Linked DNA regions of Homo sapiens: region 1 is linked to region 2. The links are contacts of gene promoters, found by promoter capture Hi-C in blood cells and fetal thymus (Javierre and others, 2016). All regions are on one chromosome and are shown on one strand. The core of a region is centred on a gene start or on the middle of the fragment in contact, and the rest is flanking DNA. Distances in the headings are between cores, read along the strand shown. Region 1 overlaps HDX (highly divergent homeobox). Region 2 holds the start of HDX (highly divergent homeobox).

The links. Contacts are between HindIII fragments. The CHiCAGO score rates a contact against its expected background, and 5 or more counts as called.
Region 1: a fragment that was not itself captured here is called in contact with the fragment with the promoter of HDX in region 2 in 1 of 17 cell types (monocytes); the score reaches 8.8 in monocytes.

Annotation. Positions count from the first base shown.
Region 1 is chrX:84,368,082-84,374,880 of GRCh38, reverse strand. All of the region lies in intron 5 of HDX (highly divergent homeobox), which reads left to right. Among named protein-coding and RNA genes, the nearest start is that of HDX, 130 kb to the left of the region's middle. The HindIII fragment of the contact is 448 bases long and covers 3,639-4,086 here.
Region 2 is chrX:84,498,221-84,504,823 of GRCh38, reverse strand. HDX (highly divergent homeobox) reads left to right here and starts at 2,371. Exons shown (of 11, transcript NM_001177479.2): 1 at 2,371-2,482. RefSeq lists a silencer at 2,198-2,347. The HindIII fragment of the contact is 2,765 bases long and covers 1,818-4,582 here.

The DNA.
Region 1 (6,799 bases), core at 2,613-5,112, 130 kb after region 2:
GGCTTTTGTTGCCATTGCTTTTGGTGTTTTAGACATGAAGTCCTTGCCCATGCCTATGTCCTGAATGGTAATGCCTAGGTTTTCTTCTAGGGTTTTTATGGTTTTAGGTCTAACGTTTAAGTCTTTAATCCATCTTGAATTAGTTTTTGTATAAGGTGTAATGAAGGGATCCAGTTTCAGCTTTCTACATATGGCTAGCCAGTTTTCCCAGCACCATTTATTAAATAGGGAATCCTTTCCCCATTGCTTGTTTTTCTCAGGTTAGTCAAAGATCAGATAGTTGTAGATATGTGGCGTTATTTCCAAGGGCTCTGTTCTGTTCTGTTTTGGTACCAGTCCCATGCTGTTTTGGTTACTGTAGACTTGTAGTATAGTTTGAAGTCAGGTAGCATGATGCCTATAGCTTTGTTCTTTTGGCTTAGGATTGTCTTGGCTATGCAGGCTCTTTTTTGGTTCCATATGAACTTTAAAGTAGTTTTTTCCAATTCTGTGAAGAAGATCATTGGTAGCTTGATGGGGATGGCATTGAATCTATAAATTACCTTGGGCAGTATGGCCATTTTCACGATATTTATTCTTCCTACCCATGAGCATGGAATGTTCTTCCATTTGTTTGTATCCTCCTTTATTTCATTGAGCAATGGTTTGTAGTTCTCCTTGAAGAGGTCCTTCACATCCCTTGTAAGTTTGATTCCTAAGTATTTTATTCTCTTTTAAGCAATTGTGAATGGGAGTTCACTCATGATTTGGCTCTCTGTTTGTCTATTATTGGTGTATAAGAATGCTTGTGATTTTTGTACATTGATTTTGTATCCTGAGACTTTGCTGAAGTTGCTTATCAGCTTAAGGAGATTTTGGGCTGAGACAATGGGGTTTTCTAGATATACAATCATGTCGTCTGCAAACAGGGACAATTTGACTTCCTCTTTTCCTAATTGAATACCCTTTATTTCCTTCTTCTGCCTAATTGCCCTGGCCAGAACTTCCAACACTATGTTGAATAGGAGTGGTGAGAGAGGGCATCCCTGTCTTGTGCCAGTTTTCAAAGGGAATGCTTCCAGTTTTTGCACAATCAGTATGATATTGGCTGTGGGTTTGTCATAAATAGCTCTTATTATTTTGAGATAAGTCCCATTAATACCTAATTTATTGAGAGTTTTTAGCATGAAGAGTTGTTGAATTTTGTCAAAGGCCTTTTCTGCATCTATTGAGATAATCATGTGGTTTTTGTCTTTGGTTCTGTTTATATGCTGGATTACATTTGTTGATTTGCGTATATTAAACCAGCCTTCATCCCAGGGATGAAGCCCTCTTGATCATGGTGGATAAGCTTTTTGATGAGCTGCTGGATTCGGTTTGCCAGTATTTTATTGAGGATTTTTGCATCAATATTCATCAAGGATATTGGTCTAAAATTCTCTTTTTTGGTTGTGTCTCTGCCAGGCTTTGGTATCAGGATGATGCTGGCCTCATAAAATGAGTTAGGGAGGATTCCCTCTTTTTTTTAAATACCTGAATTCTTTTACCACAATTTTCAATGTGCCAAGACTCTGAACCAAATGTCTGCCTACCCACATTCCCTAACAGATTCTTGTGTTTCCATACATGGATAGAAGCCGATTTGGGGCAACATTTCCTATCAAAAGTGCTCCTCGTCAAAATAGCTCTGTTTTTCATTCTTTCAAACATGAGTAAGTTAGGCACATCCTGTTTGCTATGTCATGGCTTTTCCTTAAACTAGGTCTTATTCTTTGGAAAATACCTATGTGTTTTGTTGTTTTGTTTTAATCTATTCTGAAAACATCAGCTTTTATGAATTAACCCACAAGTTATTAAAAATGACATATTTTAATGCAAATAAAATATTTCTATATTTAGACAATTTAATCACATGGATTATCTTAACACTATCAGTTTAAAACTATGAGTATTTTATATACATTTTCAAAGTAATTATAATTTCTTAGCACCTGAGGAGATTTAGGGGTAGAGATGGAGATGGCAGGATAATTTTCTGCTATATAAACATTTTATTAATTTAAACTGCCTTGTCTCTCACCTACTGTAAATCAAGTTCTGAATTTTTGTGATAATAATTGTTCTGTAGACATTGCAGAAGCTTTCCCATTCACAGATAAGAACACAGCTAAGTCATATCTATGATAAACCTTTGGGAGTTTACATTTTACAAGAACAATTCTCGCTTTTAGTTATTTGTTGTGCTTTAGATCTGTAAGATTAAAATATTTTTTAAAACTGTAAGAACAAAAAAGAACTTACACAATGCAATGAGATTAAATGAAAAAAATTAAAATGCAAAACTCTAGCAGGTTTCAAACTTATATTACAGAATCCTTGGTCAAACATCAGTTTTAGTGAAAGCAAATGTAAACTTGCTGTGTGCTTATGTACCACATGCCTAGTAGATACTCAATAATGTGAAGTGGCCAGCTGACAAAATGATCCTGTATAGTGAAAGGTTTACCACTGATTTTTCTTTTTAATTAAGGCTATGCAAAAAGTTATTTTAATCATGTCTTAAAGTTGCATATAAAATATATATATGGGTAACCTGATGACTGTACATGATGCCAAAAAAATACTTAATATTTTAAAATGTAACAGCACTTTCTGATGTTGGCTTAAGATTGTGAGAGCTATGCAAGGAAAATTATGCAAGTTTTCCTTAGTGCTGAACTACCTAGTTTATTACTATGACTACCCTCTTTTTCTATAATTCTTTGACTCCCACTTCTTTCTGTCTCAACAGCTGCTGTTCTGTCTTATTATATCTGGCCATTCGAAGACATCTACAGATTTATTTTATTGTATCAACAATAGAATTCTTTCAAATTACATTTTCTTGTAAATTTCCTATTTTGATTTATTTTTTAACCAAACTCTCCACAATTTTCTCATCACTAAACAATGGAGACATATAACTGGTGCCTAATCACTGTAGGAAGTTAACAGTAGATATGGTGAAAGTGGGCAGCCAACCAGATGCCATATTGCAGGAGCTTGCCGCAGATTGCTGTTCAATTCTAGAACTTCGCAGCAGGGTACTAGGCCCCCACATTTAATTTCATTAACGAATAATTCTCCTCAGAGAGCACATAAAAATAGGCAATAAGCATCAAATGTGAACCTGAGATACTTTGAATGGTGATATGATGATACCAGCAAGGCAGGAAATCAGACCTTTTCCACATGCTAGCTGTCATGTGAGTGACATCTGTGTTCCATGGGGGCTGTGACACCCTGCTTTAAATATACAGAAATGTATAATATCTAAAAGAACAAAACAATAGCCAGCACGAGATGCCCTTCACAAAGAAGCTGGAGCAAAATCCAAGCATGCTCAGCTATTGCTGCTCTTTCTAAAAAAGCAGTTTATTCTCTCAGGTACCTGTGATTCTCCTGTTAAGTTAGTCTCCCCTCATAGCACCTGTATTTTTCTTCCCATTTAGGATACAGGTGTGTGTATGTGGGGTAGGTTTCAGAAGAAGGCTCATGTTTACTAGGTTGCTATGAATATGAACCTGATTTATTTTACATGTGTTTTCTCATTTAATCTTTTTTAGCAATCCTCTGAGGTGGGTAGAATTATGCCCATTTTAACATAATGAAAATAAGCTTCAGAGAGAGATTAAGTCACTTTTTCACAACTAGGAAGAGACAGAACTGAGATTCAAATACAGGATTTTCTGGATTCCCACTGTTTTGCACTGAGGAGAAAATTTTCAGCTTCTATTTGTTACCAGTTGTAAGCCCTTACGATGTGCTCCACATAATAAAAACCTATGCTATTTCTGGCTTTAAATGTTTGTTGCTGGAGAATAGAAGTGTTGTACATATATGTTGAAATGATGGACCTTACATGTGATATTTTGTTTTGTTTTGTTTTTGACAAGTTTGCAATTATATACAGAGGCTTACCAACAATTCTTCTATTTCATATTAAAGATACTTCCTGCTAGGTTTAGAATAAAAATAACTTATTCAATTCTGTCCAAAGAGGATTAGTTAATTTTTCAAGGGAATTCCTTAAGAAGTGTAGCTATCTTCATTCAATGCTTTTAAGCTTAGCTATGATAATAGGGGGTCTTGTTCCACTTCTGCTTATCAGTAGAAATTTTCTATTTGTATGACATTTCCCTAGCAGAGCATTGTGATTGACACTGCTTGTAAGACAAGTAAAATGTTAGCCGAGCAATGTCAGTTGAAACTCTAGAATTCACTGTTGATCTTTTTAAAATAAATAAACTGACAATGACAGCACTTTCTCACATATGGTATATTTGGAAAGGAGTGGGTCAGGGATTTGGATGCCAGAACTCCAGAGACTGAAAGCCAAAAGGTAACTCTTGCCCAGACCCCTATTCTGTAAGATTGAACGAAGTTCTTTTCAAGAATAAATTTCAAGTAGTTTTGTGATGGTAAGTGGTTTATATTAGGCAGCGATCTCCAGAGAAACAGAACTCATAGATTGGATGGAGATAAAGAATTGTCTCCCACTATTGTGAAAGCAGAGGTCTCACAATCCTCAGTCTGCAAGCTGGGGACCAAGGAAAGATGATATGTAGTATTGGTCTCAGTCCAAAGGCCTGCGAACGAGGAAAGCCAAGTCCAGTAAATTCCAGTCCCAAATCCAGCAGCTTCAAGATCCAAGAAGAACCGATGCTTCAGTCTGAGTCCAAAGGATAGAAAACACGAGTGTCCCACCTCAACAATCAGGCAAGAGGAATTCTTTCATACTCAGGCTTTTTGTTCAGTTCCAGTCTTCAATTAAATAGATGAGGCCCATTCACATTAGGAAGGGCAATCTACTTAACTCAGTCTACTGATTTATATGTTAATCTAATTCAGAAACATCTTCACAACACACCCAGAATAATGTTTGACCAAATGCTTGGGCACCCCTTAGCCCAGTCAAATTGACACATTAAATTAACTACCACAAAGATACATTTCAGAAAGTCAAGGATCAGAAACTATTAGAATGTAAAAGATAACTTTCTTATTGAAGGATGTTAATATCAGGAATATATTTTTACAACTCCTACAACTCAATACCAAAAACAAATAACCCATTTAAACAATGGGCAAAGGACTTGAATGGGAACTTCTCCAAAAAAGATGTACAAGTAGCCAACAAGCGTATAGAAAGATGCTCAACATCACTAATCAACAGGGAAATGCAAATCAAAGACTCAATGAGATTTCACCTCACACCAATTAGGATATCTACTGTAAAAACACACAGAGGTGCAAAAACACGCACACATGTTCAGAAAATGGCAAGGGTTAGTGAGGAGATAGAGAAATTAAAACCTCTATGCACTGTTAGTGGGAATGTGAGATGGTATATCTGCTGGGGAAAACAGTATGGAGGTTTCTCAAAAAATGAAAAATAGAATTACCCTATGATCCAACAATTCCACTTCTGGGTATATATTCCAAGGAATTAAAAACAGGGTTTTGAAAAGATATTTGTATGCCTATATGCATACCATTATTCACAACAGCCAAAACATGGAAACAATCTAAATATCCATCAATGAATGAATGTATGAACAAAAATTTGGTACATGCATACAATGAAATATTATTCATTCTTACAAAGGAAGGAAATTCTGACACATGCTGTGACATAGATAAACTTTGAGGACATTATGCTAAGTGAAATTAGCCAGTTACATAAACACAAATATTTCATTATTTTATTTATATGAGCTATCTAGAGTAGTTAAGCTAAGGAAGGTTTAATAGAATGGTCATTGCGTGGGGTTTGGGGAGGGGAAATGGGTAGTTTATTGCAAGGGTTCCCACTCCATGAGCCATGGACTGGTACGAGTCCACACAGCAGGAGGTGAGCAGCAGGCAAATGAGCATTAATGCCTGAGCTCTGCCTCCTGACAGATCAGTGGCGGCACTCAATTATCATAGGAGCAGGAACCCTATTGTGAACTGTGCATGCAAGGGGTCTAGGTTGTGCACTCCTTATGAGAATCTAATTAATGCCTGCTGATGTGAGGTAAAACAGTTTCATCCTGAAACCCTCCTCCCCGGTAACCCCACCCTCATCCGTGGAAAAAATTGTCTTCCATGAAACTGGTCCCTGGTGCCAAAAATGTTGGGGACTGCTGGTTTAATGGATATGAAAAAGTTCTAGAGATGGGTGGCACAACAGTGTAACTATACTTAACACTACTGAACTGTAGATTGAAAAGGGTTTATAATGGCAAATGTTACGTTGAAAAGCATTTATAATGGCAAATGTTATGTATATTTTACCACAATTTGAAAAATACATCAGTCAAATTAATTTTTTCCCAGAAAAAGTCACATAAGAGGCTTACTTTTGAGAACCTGATATTGCACCTCATATAGTTAACAAGCCATTTTCACTGGAGATAGAAACTGTGTTAATAAATAAATTGAATGAAACAATATATGGAGCATAAAATTTTGTAAAAGTCACATACACAATTTAAAGTTGTAAAAGTTTGCTAATAATAAAAATGTATGCAATGTGATTAAAATATCATTGTGTAAAAAAGACAACACTTTAACACATGTTTAGTACAGTTCCGGTAACTAGGAGTATAGAAATTTTAAAAATAAAGAAGAAAGAAAACCATGATTCTTTAAATGAGCATTTAACATAAAAATAAATGCATATGTTCAATAAGCATATAAAATGATTAATCCTCCTTATGCTTCAAGAAAACAAAATAAGAAGCTATGTTTTCACTAAATTGGCAGAAATTACACAGTAGAATAAAACCCAATATTT
Region 2 (6,603 bases), core at 1,122-3,621:
AATGTAATGAGATGCATTTGGAGGGCTTTAAATCAGGTAGTGATATGGTCTGATTCAAACTTTATAAAGAATATTTTGACTGATGTTAAGAGAAACTTTTGAAGAAGGACAAGAGTGGAAGAAAATAAACGATGTAAGATGCTTTTGCAGTATTTCAAACTAGAAGTTACAGTGACTTTAGTGTAACGGTGATAGAGGAGGTACAGAGTATTCAGATTTGGGGCCTAATTTGAAGGTACAGTCTTCAAACATACTAGTGGCTTAGCTACAGAGTGAGAGGGGAAAAGAGGAAGGAAAAATTGGATTAATTTAATTGCCTCTATTTGTACTGTGATTTCATACAAGTCTTCTTGTGTCTTTGCATTATAAACCCTTCAAGGGTAGGGACTCTGATCCTTTTTCTCATATCACTTCAGTTTCAGGTAATTCATAAACGTAATTTATGAATACGTTAATCAATTATCAATAGGCTTTTTCTGAATCCTCCACTTTACCCATATAATTCCTTCTTTGAAAGTCTCATATTTCATCATTTTTAACACCCTAATCTAGGGGTGTGTCACCTAGAAGCTGGGTTAGCATTACAACTGTCTAACTGGTCTCTCTCACTCCAGCCTATCGCAATGTTACTGAAAATGCAAATTAATGACTTGAAAAATGTGCTTTCAGTCATTCATTCAATACGTACTTACTTATTTGTCTACTTTGTATTTAGAGGCTTTCTAGATTTGAGGGATATAATAATAAACAAAACAGACAAAAATCCCTGCCTTCATAGAGCTTACATTTGCAATAACTAAATATATAAAATACATTTAATAATAATAAATACTATGAAGAAAAATGAAACAGAAAAAAGGGTATAGAGAGTGTTAAGGATATCACAATTTTAAATAGGAAAACCTCTTTAAAGAGGTTGCATTTGAGCAAAGATTTCAATCAAGTGATGGAGTAAGTCATATAAAGATCAGACAGTACAACAGTACAGGGTCACTGCTGTGGACATGAGCTTGACTTGTTTGAGAAATAGAAGATTAATATATTTGTGAATTAGTGGCTGAGTGACAGGAGGTGAGGTCAGAAAGATGGCGGAGGCCAGATCATTTAGGGCTTTGAGGACATGGTAAGAAATCTGCATTTTATTGTATATGTGAAAGGAAACCATTGAACAATCTGAAGTTGAGCATAATCTGGCTTTTGTTTTAAAAAATCACCTAAACTCCTCTGTAGATAATTGACTATAGAGGATTGAGGTCACATGCTTTATGGCTTTTGGTGGCTTTTAATCAAATAAAAGTTATCTGCCTATTTTCAAAGGCTTTTATTATTAGCCAATTCCATCTACCACTAGTCCTCAGCATATGCCCTCTATTTGTCAAGCTGATTTCATCATGGGCTTCCTCACATCATATGAATTTATACGTCTCTACCTTTGCCTATCTTTCCCCTTTAAGACGGTGACTTCCATCTGCTCTTATCCACCATTCAAGAACCATCTCAAGTTTTAATTACATAAAATGCTTCCCTGACTTTTCACCTCACTGATGTCTCCAATAATTAAATAATGTAGCTCTTGTCTGTAGTTAATGACTGAGCACATGATCATGTACTTTATTTTATTGTTGTGAATATTTACTGTGTGCTAATCTTGTCTTCCAAACGATGTTGCAAGTTCTATGATAGCAGAGAATCAATGAATTCTATATCTCTCATGGCATCCAGCAAATCTGGGAAGTATATCAAGTGACTGTTAAATGATGTAACATGTGGCTTGACTTCTTTTCTGGAATGGTATAATGGTGATCACCCAAGAAGCTTCTGCCAGAATAGGAATTGAGGTTGGATGAATAAAAACCATAGTTTCTTTCCTCAGTCATCAGAGCCAACCAGTCACGTATAATAGTACACTTGCTTTTACTGTAAAATTCTAAAGGCTCGATGGACACCTTATTGATTTTAGTAAAACTGAATATTTACCTGTCAATCGAACACTGACCACAAAGGACTGTATTTCCTTATGCTATCATTTGATTTTGGCAGCATGTAACAATTTTGTTAAAACCCAATGTCAAGTTGGAAGGCCAGGCAGCACCTGCTCAAATGGCTGGCATGTAACTACTATAGTCACAGGGATGCTCGGTGTTCACAGCTATTCAGGAAGGTATAGAGAGCCCTGGCCGTAGATGTAGCTGATTTGTGTGAGGAAGAGGCAGTCCAGTTGCAGGCAGCCATCTCTCTTCCCCCCTCCCAACTCTTGGGTTCTGGGCTGAGGCCAGGGACTGTCCTGAGCTGATCGCAGGCTCCCATTGGCCGCTGTCTTTTGTGACGTCACGATCATGATGAGAATTGATGATCGGACACGCTGATTTCATTGTCTGAAGCGGCACTGGAGACCCAGGAAAAATCTCGCTGAATCCGCCTGCCCCAGCAGCGGCCTGATCTGGGTTCCGCTGATTCCTTTCGTAACCGCACCACACCCGAGGTAAGCACTCAACACTAAGTGGGTGAGAAGGGCGAAGGAGGGAGGGCAAAGCACCGGGATAATGCTTTTCCTAGTTTGGGGCGAGGTTGGGGGTGGGGGGGTCCATAGGTTCCGTGGCCTAAACAGGCAGACAAAAAACTGGTGCGGATCCTAGGGAGCCAAGTGCCTCTATCCTCCTAGCGAAGGCTGGCGGCTGAGTGAGATTAGAAACGAGCTGCGGATAGGGATACAATGGGGATTGCCAGAGAGCGAAGGACCTTGCTCGGAGAGAGAGCGATGTTTGGGACGCGCTTCTGGACGGGTAGTAGGAGGAAGTGGCGCCTCTGCCTCCGAAGAAAGGAGGGGATTGAATTCTACCACTTCTAGATTTCACTGGACAGTAGATTTCTCACAGCCCTACTCAAAGGCACTGAGAGCGTAGCGCCTGCGCATTAGCACCTTGGTGGGGGCGGGGTGGGTCACTGTGAGGAGAATAGGCGTGGAGTTTGCACAGGCGCTGTTTCGGTTTCACTGGAAGAGGTGGGGCTGAGCCATTTCTGTGCTGAATTTGGAAAGTAGAGACCCAGGGAACATCCCAGGCCTTGTGATGTTTCAAGCACCAGTTGATGGGGAGAGATCTGCCATTTAGTTTAAACTGGCCTACTGAGTAAATCCAGCTTCAAAATGAGCCTTATAAATTTGAGAAGGCACATTCTAAATTTCCAGATATTAGATGTTGAATAACGGAATGAACTCTAGAAGAATTTGTGAAATAGAAGTTTATCAGATAAGAAACTGTTTGGAAAAATAAACACTAATTATTCAAATGAATCTAACTTTTAATCTTAAAGGAGCTCTGATTTGAGGTGACAATGATTTTGAACCTTAAATTCTTTGGAAAGACTCAGAATGAAGTCCATTGTGGAGGCTCAGAGTAAGAAATTTTCCTTTCTTGCCTTTTTCTCTTCTTGGGACAATCTCTTATAAATATTTAGTCTCCATATCAAGTTTGGTGCTGAGTCCATCTTCTTCCTCTGTGTCTCTGCTAGAATCACTGAAGTCAAATATTATTTTGAGAAGCCCTTTCCCGCACCCCTTCATTGGGAAGGCTGTTATATTACTTATATTAAGGCTTTTATTACTCAGCAGTTGTGGGGAACAATGAAGAACAACCTGCCTGTCTATTATTGATGAATAGATTGTACAGTATTGTTATTAATTGCCCTCCACAGTCTGATCATAGACTCCTGACAATTTTACAGAGGAATCTGGATTTTTCTCTATTTCTCATAGTTAAGGGATTATCAAGTACTGGTAAATTTTCCTTTGAAAGCCTTCTCACACGTTCCTCCTTTACAATCTAAATTCTCATCAGCACCCATGTAGTCACTGTAGGAGCTTCCTAGGCAGTCTTCACCTGTGCCCCAAATCCTTAGTGGTCTGTGAACACTTCTTTCAACAAATCACTTTCTTTAACCAACATATTCTTGGCCCCTTATTTTCTATTGTTTCAAGCCTAATTCCACCCGAATTTTAAAGAACTTCATAATCTGGCCTCATTGTAATGCAGGAGCCTTATTTTCCTTTATTCTTCAGGGCACAACTCTCTTTAATGTTCAGTTAGTGAGAACAATCTACCTTTATATCTTTGCTCCTTATACCATTACTGTCCCCTCCACGTAGGATGTCCTCCTTCTACATAATTCACATCTTACCCACTTTGGAAACTCAACTCAAATTCCACCCCTCCACAAGTGCCTTCCAAATTAATCTAATGCAAGTGTTACTGACCTCACTTTTCCTAGAATTCCCACGTCAATTATTGTCTTTGTTAGTTGCTTGTAGGCTGCTTTGTATTGTCTCCTTTGTTATTGTTGTTGTTGTTGTTGTTGTGTGTGTGTGTGTGTGTGTGTGTGTTAGACTGGAATCCTCAAATGGATTTTAAACCCTTCCTTAAGGGTTGGGACCATGACATCCATTTCTTTATTATCTGCCCATAGCACCTAACTGAATAATCAAAATAGCTGTAGCTATATATGTTCTTTTTTTTTCCCCTAGAAAACAATTTCCTGGGAAATGAAGCAGTATTTTTATAGAGAGAACTGTATACATGTGAAAGCTTATTCATCGTTGGTCAGGCAAGAGACCCTCCAATGACTAAATAAACCTGAATTTAAGTCAGAGGAAAGAAATTACACAGATCTCTATTTACTGGGTGGCCTTCAAATATATCATGTCCTCATAAACAAGATCAAGGGAGGGAACACTATCCCAGAAGAGGTTCTGTCTGTAATCTTCTCAGTTTGAAAAATACTAAATAAAGAGGTATTCCACTGTTCTATACTTCTCTTTGGTGACATTGTATCATGTATCTTTAAAAATACACAAATTACTCACTTTTTATTACATTTTATCTACAATTGCTATCTTATATTGATTATTCCTGATAGTTTTCATGTGTACATCTCTTGAATCAGAGATGACCTTTGTGATGGTTGTTACAATTGCTATTATATATTGGTTGTCACTTTCCTATCCTTCAGGCTTCAAATTGCATTCTTCTGCAGAGCTCGTTTTACTTGAATGACAGTGTGATTATGGTTTCATACAGAGGTTTTTCACATATTTCACTTTGGCTCCTGCCTCACTTTGAGGTACCATCCCAATATCACATAAAAGTTTTTGACTTAGAAACATAGATTAAAAGCAGTCTGAAGGGTGTTTTAACCTGTAAATTAGAACATCATTATTGTAGATAATTGTAAGTGAACCATGAATGTTATTCATTGTAAGGGAAAATCCTTTGACCTTTTCTCTGATTACCTATATTATATGAAACTCCTCAAAGCTGTTTTAGCTTATAGCCAGCTTTCATAGTAATTGAGACTTTCCTAGACATTTACACATAGACCAATAGAGAAAACTGATCAAACTTAAGCAACTCTGGATAGAATGTGGTGCTTAGAAATATGCTGTTAAGTTTAGAGAGCCCAAAATAAAATATGAAAAAAACTGAGTGTGACATGCGTTTTTTAAGGCTTGTTTTACAATTTCTATCTGGGAGGATGACATTGGGTTTTCTCATTTAAGTTGTAGAGTTTAAGTTGGGAGAGATTTTATAGTGATAAGCCAATCCCCTTATTTTACAAGTAAAGAATCTGAAGCCCAAAGAAGTGAGGTACTTTACTAGCATTAATAAACACTAATATTTATTAAGCACTTAGTGCCAGGCATTGTGCTAAAAACTTTATATATCTTATTACATTTAAACATCACAAAATCTATATGAAAGAGTGTATAGTATTATTTCCCATTTTACAAATGAGAAAACATATTTCAAAGCAGTTGATTTTCCCAGGACCACACAGCTACTATACGTCACAGTCAAGACCCAATCACGGGTTTGACTTCTAATCACCAAGTTATGCTTGACTAAGGTCAATATAATGAACTTTTGGCAGAGCTTTAGCTAGGATCTAAATCTCTGGAATCTGAGATGTGTGTGTGTGTGTGTGTGTGTGTGTGTGTGTGTGTGTGTGTGCATACATTCCATAAACACCATATTACTTCTACAAAGTTAGAGATTTGTAAGATTACCCAAATAAATGGTGTATACCTACATTTGTTTTAGATATTTTATTAAAACACACTCTCTCAGTCTTGATTGAAAAAATATAGCATGAAAATTTGCATAAAATACATTTTAAAAACATTTATTTCCTTCTGCTTTTAAAATTGTATCATACTTCCAGAGGGAATTATATTTTTATAGTGTAATCTCCAACAGAATAAATAAAATTTGAATTGTTGATTTTTATTTTATTGTGGAGTCAGTGAGCTAAAACTGAAATTGGTGGTTTCTTAATATACTTGTATTGAGTACACTATATCTAGGTACACTAGTTTGGGAGCAAATATCGATAATTCTAGAGATATATTATGCATAAGAAGGGAGCTTGAGACACTGGCATATTCAGAAGCTATCACTGATATCCTAATACCTTTCCATTCTGCATAAAATTTTAAGGAAATAAGTTGAAACCTGTCTGTCCAAATGAGGTCATTCTTGTGCCAACTAGTGGCAAAATTGCCTGGATTAAACCAGAGATCTAGGTATAAGGCAACTGGATACATGAAATTAT